Regions from separate parts of the Homo sapiens genome. Here regions 1, 3 and 4 are each linked to region 2. The links are contacts of gene promoters, found by promoter capture Hi-C in human tissues and cell types (Jung and others, 2019). All regions are on one chromosome and are shown on one strand. Each heading gives the region's core, a stretch centred on a gene start or on the middle of the fragment in contact. The rest is flanking DNA. Distances are from core to core; before and after follow the strand shown.

Region 1 (3,146 bases), core at 500-2,999, 340 kb after region 2:
ACTGAGCATCGACTATGTACCAAAGACTAGCTCAAGGCACTTCATATATGTTATCTTTTTTGATATTTCAATATCCTTATGAAGTAGGCATTATAACCACCATTTTAGAAATGACACCAAAGCAAATGATTAGTAAGTAGAATCTAGATTTTAAATAGGTTCACCTAATACCAACCATCAAGCTATTTTCACTTCCCTGTGTAGCCTCATGCACTACATTATATAAATATTTCCTTTTGATGTTATATCTACACTGCAGTTCTACAGCCAGGGATTCTTAAGTGTTAGTTCCAAAAAATTAGTACAAATCATTCTTTACCTCAAAAAGAGAGATTATCTCCCAGCAATGAATTCAGTTTTTGGAGAAACAGGCTGGATCTGCTTTCAATCTCAAATGCCTGGTAAGGCAACATAGAAATATTTGTGAGATTGTTGTTATTCTCATCACAGAATGAGCACACATTACATTTTCACCTCTTTTCCAGAAGAAATGGATCAGGGCTTTAAAGTGACAGCCAAGAATTTATGTAATCTTCTATCGCAGTTTCAGAACATCTGACGCAAAAAAAAGAATAAATCACCTTTCCATTATAATAATCAGAATAAAACGAAAAGTCATCGTGAATTGAACATTTCCCATGGGCTAGGTCCTATGCTAAGTGTCTTCCATGCATTATCTTGATCAGTCCTTACAACACTACTATGGTCTCAGATAAGGAGACTAAGGCCCAGAAAGGTTAAGTTACTTACTCAAAATCACATGGCAACGTAAGTGATAGGCTAGAATACAAATCCAGGTCAGCCTGTCTCCATATATAATGCCCCTGAAATATAACACATCATTTCCAACTAATTATTTGTTGTTTGTGTTGTATTAAAATCCCTTCCAATGTCAAACATGCAAGACGAATTACAGGTGAGTTACAACTATGGTGATGAGGGTGCCATGGGTGGATAGTGTAAGAATAGGTCTATAGCAGATAAATTACACTATAATGTAACTAAGATAAAATAAATAAGATATCTCTCCTCTCTCTCCAATTTGCCAATAAAACAAAGAAGGGGAGGTGATAGCTCAAAAGAAGACAATCTTCATCTTTAAAGCAAGATTCAGTAACATAATGAAATTTTTTTTAAAGAATTGATGAATTCCAGGCAAGATTTTTAGAAAATCTTTCAAAGCTAAAATGAATAAAGCATAAGTTCCAGTAAGTATGTGGTCTTATCGGCAGCAATATACAGAGATCTGCAGTCTTAAGTTAGCTGCTTTCTCAGAAACTCTGATCATGCAATAAGGCCTGCTGTAAACACTGTTCAAAGAAGCTCGCACTTCGCATCTCATGACTTTGTTTTAGCGCCGAATGCAGATTGGCACAGATACTATATTGCAGTCATACTCAGACATTCCTTCCCTCGACCATCACTTACAATACACATTGCAGCTACAGTGACCCCATACGTGCAACTCAACAGGAATAGAGGATTGAGTTATTCACCTGAGAATCAATTTTACACCAGACTAGAATAAAAAGTTGCTTTTGAAATGCGTAAAAGAGGCCAAAAATACACACTATTTCTTTGGCAGCAAAAGCACCACACTATCTTCATGCTAAGATAGAGAGTAGTTGTACAATAGGCCATAACAAAGTTATCAAAATTCAATTTTCTAATCAAATGTCCTTATTTCGGATCAGAATGACATCAGAAATAGCTCAAATAGAACTGCTTTTTCAGTATAGACTTTACCTCCTGTGTCAGTGGAGATCGTAAATTCTTTTAAAAGCAATCTCTTAGAATGATGGCCATAGTTGTTTGTGAAACAAAACAACTGTTACTAATCCTAACAATAAACCCATTTCCAGATCCCAGGTTCCAGTGGTCTTGACCTTGGTTTAAAGTTGAAGTGAAATGCATAGATGTCTTAAAACTGGGAACATAAATCAGACTGAGTGCCTACACATATTCTAGCAAATCCTTTATTTGATTATTATCTGAACTTATCCTTTTGACACCAGAGATGACTCAACACATCTGGAGTACTGTTTTGACAGTACTTCTGATTTACACTCCTAGACCCATTGCAATCTGTAGGCTTTAGCAATATAAATTTTAAAAATACACTCTATAATAATAATTATACCTATACTCTCCATTGCATCAACATGACATCAATATGTCATCAAAATGAGCATTTCTTGGTTTTGTAAAAATATGTTAAGAATGGTCTCCTTTCTCTTTTTCTTTTTTTTTCTTTTGAGATGGAGTCTTGCTTTGTCACCAGCCTGGAGTGCAGTGGCACAATCCCGGCTCACTACGACTTCCACCTCCTGGGTTCAAGTGATTCTTCTGCCTCAGCTTCCCGAGTAGCTGGGACTACAGGCGCGTGCCACCATGCCCGGCTAATTTTTGTATTTTTAGTAGAGACGGGGTTTCACCATGTTGGCCAGGATGGTCTCGATCTCCTGACCTCGTGGTCCACCCACCTCGGCCTCTCAAAGTGCTGGGATTATAGGCATGAGCCACCGCGCCCAGCCTCCTTTCCCTTTTCTATGGCTTCTGTCACTACATTTCCAAGCGATTTGGCTTTTTCAGCTTTCACAGGTTAGCTGTTTCAAGTTCAGTTTAGGATTTGGGGCTGTACCATATAATAAGGCACCTCCTTGACCTAGCGGAAGCCAATTAATTAAATTTGGGGGAAGAAGGAATTCTATTTTGTCTGCAGATTGAAACTTTAGTCAAATGGTGCCTTTTCAGAGAAGCAGGAGAAAAGAATATTTCATTTCCTTTTGAGTAGCTGTTGTTAATTTTGAATAGTCCTAGGTTACAGACATGCACATTTAAAAAGAAATATCTCCTTAAGGAATCCCCCAAAAGTGATTATTACCATATATGTTTTTTATCACTTTGTTGTATATACCACAGAGACTTCACAGTCCACCAGCCATACATTTCAATTTCATCCTTTGATTTTCAATGGTAAATCTAAGGGTCAACTAGTCTTTCTTTGAAATGCCCTATATGGCACAGTTATAGGAAAGGCAGAGTATCATTAATACAATCTTCAATTAATAGAATAAAACATACTACTACTTATATTCCTACTTTGAAATTGAAGTTACTTTGAAATTTCAATGGCAACTCTATTT
Region 2 (3,331 bases), core at 494-2,993:
TCATCATTTTCCCACTGAGCTTAAATGACAGAACCAACGCAGAAAGTTTTGTTGTCCCAAGAATTTGGTTGTAGTAATCATTACTGGAAACAGACATTACAAACTGTCATTTCACCGAGACGTCATACAAAGCCTATCTGAAATTTACGTCTATAAGGATGATGTCAAAGATAAGAATTTCCAGCTGGATGAAATGGAAATTGCCAAAGTCCATAAAACTCAGAAATTAACTGGATTCAACTCACAAACTATGTACAGTTATGTGCAATTTTGTAATGATAAAGACAATTTGTAAGATCTGGTTATATTATCACATTTAATGGATTCACCTTATCAGAGAGAGCAGTTGAGTTCATATTACCTGATCTCCACACTTACCAAGCAGACACACATTATGCAAGGGTTGTCTGTGATAAATGGAATCTGGAGGACTTCACCTTCATTTTCACATTTTGCAACAGAACCTGAAATTCAGGGGGGAAAAATGTTTCATTTAAAGTTAGCTTAGCAGCATGATTTCAACATTTAAAATTTTTACACTAATCCTTTTTGAAACCTCTACCCAAACTTCAGAATTCTTAATGTGGTTTAAATTATTAAATTCACCAAAGCAAAACCTCTGCCCCCAACTCCATTTTCAATAATTTTATTTAAACAGGTTCAAAAAAGAAAAGACTATGATATAGGGATAAATTATCTGTTCTCAGATGGTCTAAGCACAATTCCAAGTATTTCACTGGATTTTTAATAACACTCCTCCTTTATGAAGATATTTCAACTAAGCACACAGCCCCATACGCAAAGAAAAAAATAAAAAATAAAATTTAAAAAAACCCTCAAATTGGGGCAGATTTTAAATTGACCAAAACTCAGAACTGAGTCAATAAACAGGCCTTTCTATGAATCTGTCTCGCATTGTCTTAGGTTTAAATCACTTTTTGAAACGCAATCCCCTTTTCCCTTCTCTTAGAAATTGACTCCATATTTTCTTTTCTGCACCAGGTGTCAGTAAAGTATGTCCTTCAGAATAGCAGCTGAGGTCTTCACCTGCCTGAAAACATATAATTATTATATCCGGCTATTAGTGCCCTTTTTAAATGATAGTTTCTTTAAATTCAAGGTCTTGAGAGCCAGTGCTTTAAAAAGCACTCCTAGCACAGTGGATGTATTGCAACCCCAAAGATGAGAAAGGAAGATGTGCGGAAAACTGCACAAATTTTTTTCCTGAGTTCTACAGAGGGAAAGATTAAAATAAAAGTTGAGGAAAGCATTAAAAATAAATAAAATAATTTCTCAAATTCAAATAGAAGAATGTCTATTATTACTACATTGAAGGCAACAGCCTCTCAGCCCGCAACCTCTTCACCAGCCTTCCCAGCCCTCCCGGGGCTTCGCTTCATCCCCATCGACCAGCGCAGGGCAAGCGCCAAGGTGCGCGCTCCCCACCCTCCCATCCCCGGGGCAAGCCAGCGCCACCTTTCCCAGGTACCAAACCGGCGTCCCGGAGGGCCGGTCCCTCCCGCCCCCTCCCCTACCTGTCAAGAAGGAGGAAGCCAGAGACATGGGGACCCCCGAGCAATTGAGTAGCAGCAAGACGCAGCACGTAATCCCAGGCGAGCGGCGGCAGTAACGCTCAGCCAGAGCCCCGACGCCGGAGAACCAGAGCATCGTCACCTGGAGGGAATCCCTGGCGACTGCAGGTCCCGCGCCGCCGCCTCTGCTCAGCTGCCGCAGCTCACAGTCGAAAAGGGCTCTCAGCCGGCGTGTCGGGAGACCGTCCGCGAAGGAGGGAGGCGGGCGCCCGAGAGCTGGGGGGCGGGGGGGTGTGAGGGAGGGCGGGGGGAGAGACCAAGGTGTGGGGGCGCCCGGGGAGGAGGGGTCCTGCGGCCAGGCTCCTCCGATGCGGCTTTTTTTTTTTTTTTCCTGAGGGAGTTGCTTGCAGTGGCTTAGCAGTCAGCCCCTCAGCGCCGGAGAGGGGGCCAGGAGGAAGGGGTGTTGCGGCAGCCGGAGATAGACTGAGAGGAGCTGCGGCGCTGCCGACTGCGCACTGCCGCTCAGCCGCCGCCCGGGCTGCCGCTACTGTTTCGGGGGCTGTCGCTGTCGCTGCCGCAGCGTCCTCCACTCCCGCACTCCTCACCTCCTGCCAGCCCCGCCGGCTCTCGGCCCTCCCGGAGCGCGCTCGCTCCGCCGCAACAGACGTGGGCTCACCGGGCGCCTCCCGGAACCCGCTGGGGGCGCCCGGGCGCAGGAGGGACTGCGCGATAGCTGCAGCGGGAACTCTCTCGGCCCAGCTTCCAGTTCCCCAGCCCCTCCAGGGAGGCCAGGGCCCCAGGGCGCGGACCAGAGCCGAGAAGGCGCGTCTCCACTGTCCGGGCGAGCGCGGCTCCTCCTCCCTTTCTTGGGGGAGCCCCGGGGATGCCGCAGCACTAGCGCTCAGGCCCGGGTGCCCCAATCCAGCGAGGGAGCAGCAAACGGGACGCAGGGGCGCCCCACCACCCTGCTCGCTCCCGGGTGCCCCACCTTTGGGAAGGAGCGACACACCCGGGGCAGTAGGGCCCCCGCAACTTTTCATGCCCTGCTTTGCTTCCCTCTGGCGGGGGCGCGACAGCGAACTCAGGGGGCTGAGCGGACAGAGGGGCAAGTGGCCTTAGAGATGTGTTCTGTGCTTAGCTGTCTGCGCGTCCTGACACTAGGGATGACCGAAGTTGAAACACACACAAGGTCGATTTAAAAACGTACCGAGGCAAACGCCTTTCGTCCTTAAAAAATGAACAGTCGCTCCGAGACTCCTCCCTTCCAATCTCGGGCGGACCGGGGCGGGGAGGTGGTGTTTGACTAATCATTCATTCACCCGAAAAGAGGGAGGAACCCCCGCCCCACCGCTCATCTCTGGCGGGGGCCGCCGCGCGGCGGCCTCTGCAGCTCGGAGCTCCGTCGCTCTCTCAGCCCGGCTGCGCCCTCTCGCCTCTGCAGCACTGGGTGTCGGGGAGTCAGCTCCTGTGATCCCCCTGCTGAATCGCCGCCTCCTCCCCACGCAGTGGCACCCTCTACTCAAAAGGGGTGCAATCGCAGAGAGATGATTTTTGTAACCAAAGTACGAAGGCGCGAGGTGGGAGTGAGGGACGCTTGGCAAGTGTTGGGACCTGACGATCAGCTAGCTGTCCTTGAGCTCACGGTGGACTACCGACTTCCTCTGTCCAAGAGTTGAAACCGGGTCCCCACGGAACGGACCTAAGGGTCTCCAGGCAAAGTGGGTTGTTTCCATTGTGGAAACTACAGCTTTGAAAATAAATGAGTCTGTTTGCTGACAGGTTTAATCTAGCTTCACCTT
Region 3 (3,243 bases), core at 360-2,859, 410 kb after region 2:
TCCTCGACGTCTTTAAGCTTCAGTTTTCTCCTTTGTAAGAGACAAGTAATTACGTGGCTTGAAGATTAAATGAGATACAACTTAAAATGTATTTGTCACGGTGGCTAGCACATAGGAAGCATGCAATAAAGGTTAACATTATTATTATTATTTATTATTCCCTGGCTAAACACTCAACCAAGTTTTTTTTTTGTTTTTTTTTTGTTTTTTTTTTCGAGGTGGAATCTTGCTTTGTCACCCAGGCTGGAGTGCAGTGGTGCGATCTTGGCTCACTGTAGCCTCCACCTCCCAGGTTCAAGCAATTCTCATGCCTCAGTCTCCTGAGTAGCTGGGATTATAGGCATTCGCCACCACGCCCAGCTAATTTTTTTTGTATTTTTAGTAGAGACAGAGTTTCAACATGTTGGCCAGGCTGGTCTCAAACCCCTGGCTTCAAGTGATCCACCCACCTTAGCCTCCCAAAGTGCTGAGATAACAGGCATGAGCCACCACACCCAGCCCAACATATCCTTTAATAAAGCAAAATAAAATTCAAAAAATGTCATATACCTGAAGACAATAATAACACTCCCTTTGGCCTCTTCATCTCTAGTTTATACAATCCCAATAATTTCAGTACCTCTTCATGGGATTGATTTTGTATATAAAATACTTACATTATTTACCAAAGTATGTGTCATAATCTCCACATCTTCTCTCTCAAAGCACCCTGTGTGTCCCCTTCTATTATATCCATCACATTTGGAATGACTTGCTTAATACATGTAAGCTCTGTGAAGACAGGGACTGTGTCTTGTCTTATTTACTACTGTGTCCCCAGCATAGAGCATAGGGCCTAACACACAGTAGGGCTCAACAAATATTTGTTCAATTGAACTGAATTAAATCCCATTTGGTACATCCTAGAAGGGTAGCATATTAGCTTAATATTACTAGCAGAACATTCTCTTAGAAGTAGAGCTAGTACCTAGAATACCAGTTGTGAGGCAGAGCCAATAATAGATTTCCTTAATTCCATAATGCCCTTTGCTTGTTAGGCACCTCTCCCACCCATACACCCATTTTTGATAAACACTTTAATGGTTTTCAAATCAGGATACGCCACATTTAATGTGGTAGCTTTGCTTTTTATCCTCAAAAGTTATCTAATCAATAGTGTGCTCTAAAATTAATGTCTTAGAATTCATTAAATGTATTTTTGTGTGGTATTTTGTTTGGAGTTATACCTCCCAGTGTCTTCATCCAGTTTCCAGGAAATAACTATTCTAAGAATACTCCCTGGCTACCCCTTGTGGGGCATTCTCTCCAATATACACAATGATCCCTCTCCCCATACTTCCTAGGTAGGACCTACTATAGGCCAAGCATGAGTTCCTTCATATGGTCTCTATAATGAAACTGTGCAGTGGGGCTATTAGATCTACTTTGGCTGTGACGAAACTGGTGGTTTAAGATGCTGACTGTCCACAGTCATGCAGCAAGATTCAAACCCAGGACTGGCTACCCAACAAAGCCCATGTTCTGTCACTGTCCACACCGCTTTGAAAGAACTCCACGGAGCTAGAAAATTAACTTCCACAAAGTTGTTACTTATTTTCAGATTAATTATGCTTATGACTTCAATGAAAGAAACTATGCATTCTGGGAAAGTAATAAAGTTTATTTCTTATTAATAGAATAGAAGCTAAGATCAATTTACCCTGAGAAAAAATAAAATATATGTTTATTCAATCTCTTCAAAGAGTACAAATTGAGCACCCACTGGAGTGTTAGGTGCTGCATGAACCTTAATGGAGGAAGAAATTTGGCTCAATGAGCAACTGAAACTGGGGTTAATAAACATTTGTGAGATAGTGACATTTTTCACAGTTATGAGATAATTCTTAATGACTATCTTTGAAGTGATTTTCAACTATAAAACTAGCCAAAAGATAGTTGATATCCATGTATAATTCTAATACAGATGAGAATTAAACAAAAAGGGACATGACAGCTTTGGTCCTGGCATTGATATTCTCATGTAAAGCTTCTCTGTTAAAACACACAAATAAAAAGAAAATCAAACCAGGCAGAAAAAAACAAAAAAGAAAAAGAAAAAAGATTGATCTTTTTAAAACTCAGCAAATAAAGAAAAATCTACAAACCTAAGTAAATGTGTTATGTATAAAACAGATCTTTTCTTGAAATGTCCAAATTTGGATTTGAATGGATAAGGGGCCCCTCTAAACCCATGTATTTCTTCCTTCGAAGTAGCTAAAATAGACTATATGAGGATGAGAGCATCTGTTAAGAGAGGTATGGATTACAACTAGTTTTAAAAATAACTCACTTTCTAGTTCACTTAACAAATTAAACAGGTGTCACAGTTCAAATTGGAATCCTCTAATAGAATCCATTTACTAGAAATCTGAATCCATTTTCAGAGAATAAGAACAAGATTATTATCTTACAAATAACTGATTCACACAGCCACTTTTTGTTTAAATTCTTGGTATCAATATCCAACACTGTGATAAAGAGCTGAATTTGGATAAAATAACAAGTATCACACAAACCATCCGGAGAAGAAATTTTAATTCTGGGGATAGAATACCATCTTCATAGTGGAAGCGTTCATGAGTGATAGGAAATATCACACAATAGCACGTGAAGCTTCAGGAAAGAGTTCTTTGTTTCAGTTCTCTAGGGTTTTATCCTGTGGCCATCATTTTAATTCCCCTAAAAACACCTTAGAAAATAGTGTTTAGCAATCTTCAGAAAAGTTATGATTTGATGATCAAAAATAATATTAAGAAAGATTACACAGATTATTGGGGAACTGGCCACCATAAAACTTCTGGTATATCAGAAGTTGATTCTGGCAGAATCTGAGAATGGTAAGTTGAGCAGTCTCCTCTTAGTTTACCGATATGCAGAATATTTAGATTATATCTCTAGTTTTATACCAGCTATTGCCTGAACAGAGATGAGTACACAAGGAAGGTCTTGGTCATCAACACTACTTTGATAAGTTATTAAATATCCAAGTTTTCCTTCTACCTACTGGAGAAAACTCAATTTCAGCAAAAAAAAAAAAAAAAAAAAAAGCCATAAGTGGTTATTTTTGTTTAAAGAAGTCTGTCCTGGCCGGGTGCAGTGGCTCACACCTGTAATTCCAGCACTTTAGGAGGCCAAGGAGAGTGGATCACTTGAAGTCAGGAGTTCCAGACCAGCCTGGCCAACATGGCGAAACCCCATCTCTAC
Region 4 (2,880 bases), core at 148-2,647, 320 kb after region 2:
CCTTTTAAAAAATAGTAAAATATTACATTCACATGCAAAGCCCTTTCTATTTTAGTTTCCAAATGATTCTATAGCCTGTGTGATAAACAAATCAGCTTCCCACAGGAAAATAAACATATAGAGGGAAGGAGTTAAATTTTTTTCCTCTTATGCAAAGAGTAGGTGCTTAATATTTACTTGTTGACTTAAAAAGGAATTCATGAAACTTGAGGAAATACAGCCTTTAAAAAAAAAGTCATCATTTAAGAATGTTCCACCACATCCTTCCAGGATTGTGGGCTGAGCACAGCCCACTAATGTATAGGCTAGTAAATCTAAGGAAATGACCAATCAGCTCCTGTATTCTATCCTGTTTCTCCAAAAACATAACCCATTCACTCAAGCAAATTCCTATATTATGTAAAATGAAATCTCTCTAGCTAACTGCCTGCTCTTAAAATTCTCCAGTTGCTTCAAAAGCATGGCCTCTGGAGCTAAACCGTCAGAATTTTAATCCCAGCTCCATGATTATTAGTTTTTTTTTTAAAAAAGAAAAACTATTTACTTGATCTTTCTCTGCTTCAATTTCCTTATTTGTAAAATGCAGATAATAATTATACCTAGTTCATAGGGTATTGTAAAGATTAAGTGAGTAAATGGATGTAAAGCGCTTCAAATGGTGCCTGACTCATAGTAAATGATACACAAGTGTTATAATAATAAGCATTTACAGCATCAGCATCATTTTTGCCCTATACTGCCAAATTATTCCAGTCTAAGCCTGAGATTCTCATGTAAGATGAGTGGGGAACTGAAGGTACAAAGGGTAGTAAATTTTAGGAAGACAGAGCAGCAACTATAGCTATCTAGGAACACCAATAGTTGGGTTAAATATTCAAATAAAACCTTAATTGGTTGTCTGATCTGGTAAAAAAAAAAAAAAAAAACAAAAAAACAAAAAAACAAACAGTGGCCAGTAAGAAATAACAGCTTTGTAAAGAAAGAACAAAGATTAGGGTCCAGATCAATAATAGAGGACAACAATATACATCAAATCAAGAAAAATTAACTATCTCTTGACCCCACTTTCATGCCAGCATTTTCTTCCGTTTCTTTGCTCCTCTTAGCAGCAAAGCTTCTCCGAAGAGTTCTCTATATATGCTCTTTACAACTCTTCTTTTTTCCTTTCTCTCACACATCCATCCCAGTCTAGCTTTTGCCTCTGCCACTCTACAGAAGCTGCCCAAGATCACAATGATCTTCACATGGTTCCATCAATGGGCTAATTTTCAGCTCTCAGCTGACTTGATCTGTGAGCAGCATTTGACACAGCTGATCATTCAGTCTTCCTTGAAACTTTTTTTGCTTGACTTCTAGGATACCACATTCTACTGCTTTTCCTGTTACCTCACTGCAGGCTCTTTTTCAGTATTCTTTGCTGGTTCCTTCTCTTCTCCCAAACTTCCTAAAAGTTACAATATCCAGCACTCAGTTTTTGGTCCTCATCTCTTTTCTAAACTTACTCCCTTGGTGACTTTATCCAGTCTTCTGGCTTTAAAGTAACATTTTCATGCTGACAACTCCTAATTTTGTAACTTCAGCCCAGATTTCTCTCCTGAACCCCAGATTCATACCCAACTTCTTACTTAATATCTCCACTTAGATCTCTAACAGCATCTCAAACTCAACATGTCCCAAACTTTACTCTTATCCTTCACAAACCTTTCCCATCTCACCCCACAGCCTTCCCCATCTCAACTCCACCCTTTCAGTGTCTCGAGCCAAAACTACTAGAGTCATTCTAAATTCCCTTCTTCCTCTCACATATCATGTCCATTTTGTTAGGAAATTCTATTGTTTCAACATTTGAAATATATCCAGAATAAGACCATTTCTCACCACTACTACCACTTTGGTACAATCTATCATCATCTCTTACCTGAATTACAGTAATCTGCAGTTTTGCTGTCTGCAGTTTAAGTTACCTGCAATCAACCACAGTCTGAAATATTAAATAAAAAATTCCAGAAATAATTCACAAGTTTTAAATTGCACTCTGTTTTGGGTAGTGTGATGAAATCCTGGGTCATCCTTCTCCATCCTGCATGGGACGTAACTCATCCCTTTGTTCAGCACATCCATGCTGCATATGCTGCCTGCCTGTTATTGTATAGGAAAACACAACATTTTTTCATAGTACAGGGTTCAGTACTATCTGCAGTTTCAGGCAACCACTGGGAGTCTCAGAACACATCCTCCATGGATAAGGAGGGAATTACTGTATTGCTAAATTGCTTCTCTGAGTAACCCTTAAACTGGACTGCCCATTTTTACCTCTGACCCCCACTATAGTCTATTCTCAAAAGAGTAACCCGTGATCGTTTTAAAAGGTAAAGTCATGTCATTCCTTCATTCAAAATGGCTTTCCCCATTTCACCCAGAGGAAAAGCAAATGAGCAAATGTCTGCACAAAGGCTGCACATGATCTGGTCCCTCCAGCCTCCTCTCCTACCACACCACCTCACTGTCCTCTTTGCTGTCCCTGGAACACACCAGGCCCATTCCCACTTTAGGGATGGTGCTGACCATTCCCTTTACCTGAAACACTTGTCCCTCTGATTTCTGCATGAATAATTCCCTCACCTTCTTCAAGTCTTTCTTCAAAAATTGTCTTGTGAACAAAGCCTATCCTGACCACCCAATTTGAAATTATGACCATGTGGCCCCCACCCCTTTTCTGACACACATTTTCTTTTTCTGTAACACTTAACATTAGCACTTACTACTTTCTCACATACATAGTTCACTTATTTATCATGCTTATTGCTTATTGTCTTCACTTGTGAGAATAAGAGTTCCAAAATGGCAGGGATCTCTATCTAATTTGGTGGCTACAGTATC

Evidence for each region. Contacts are between HindIII fragments. The study calls those that stand out against the background at their distance.
Region 1: a fragment that was not itself captured here is called in contact with the fragment with the promoter of BMPER in region 2 in 1 of the 25 tissues and cell types used here (dorsolateral prefrontal cortex).
Region 3: a fragment that was not itself captured here is called in contact with the fragment with the promoter of BMPER in region 2 in 3 of the 25 tissues and cell types used here (aorta, dorsolateral prefrontal cortex and mesenchymal stem cells).
Region 4: a fragment that was not itself captured here is called in contact with the fragment with the promoter of BMPER in region 2 in 1 of the 25 tissues and cell types used here (spleen).

Annotation. Positions count from the first base shown.
Region 1 is chr7:33,562,032-33,565,177 of GRCh38, reverse strand. The region is part of intron 21 of BBS9 (Bardet-Biedl syndrome 9); the gene reads right to left. Among named protein-coding and RNA genes, the nearest start is that of FLJ20712, 160 kb to the left of the region's middle. The HindIII fragment of the contact is 6,844 bases long and covers 1-3,146 here.
Region 2 is chr7:33,903,951-33,907,281 of GRCh38, reverse strand. It overlaps BMPER (BMP binding endothelial regulator), which reads right to left and starts at 1,743. Exons shown (of 15, transcript NM_001365308.1): 1 at 1,536-1,743; 2 at 379-464. The coding sequence starts at 1,668. The HindIII fragment of the contact is 7,840 bases long and covers 1-3,331 here.
Region 3 is chr7:33,489,175-33,492,417 of GRCh38, reverse strand. All of the region lies in intron 19 of BBS9 (Bardet-Biedl syndrome 9), which reads right to left. Among named protein-coding and RNA genes, the nearest start is that of FLJ20712, 240 kb to the left of the region's middle. The HindIII fragment of the contact is 4,233 bases long and covers 1-3,243 here.
Region 4 is chr7:33,588,506-33,591,385 of GRCh38, reverse strand. The region is part of intron 21 of BBS9 (Bardet-Biedl syndrome 9); the gene reads right to left. Among named protein-coding and RNA genes, the nearest start is that of FLJ20712, 140 kb to the left of the region's middle. The HindIII fragment of the contact is 7,459 bases long and covers 1-2,880 here.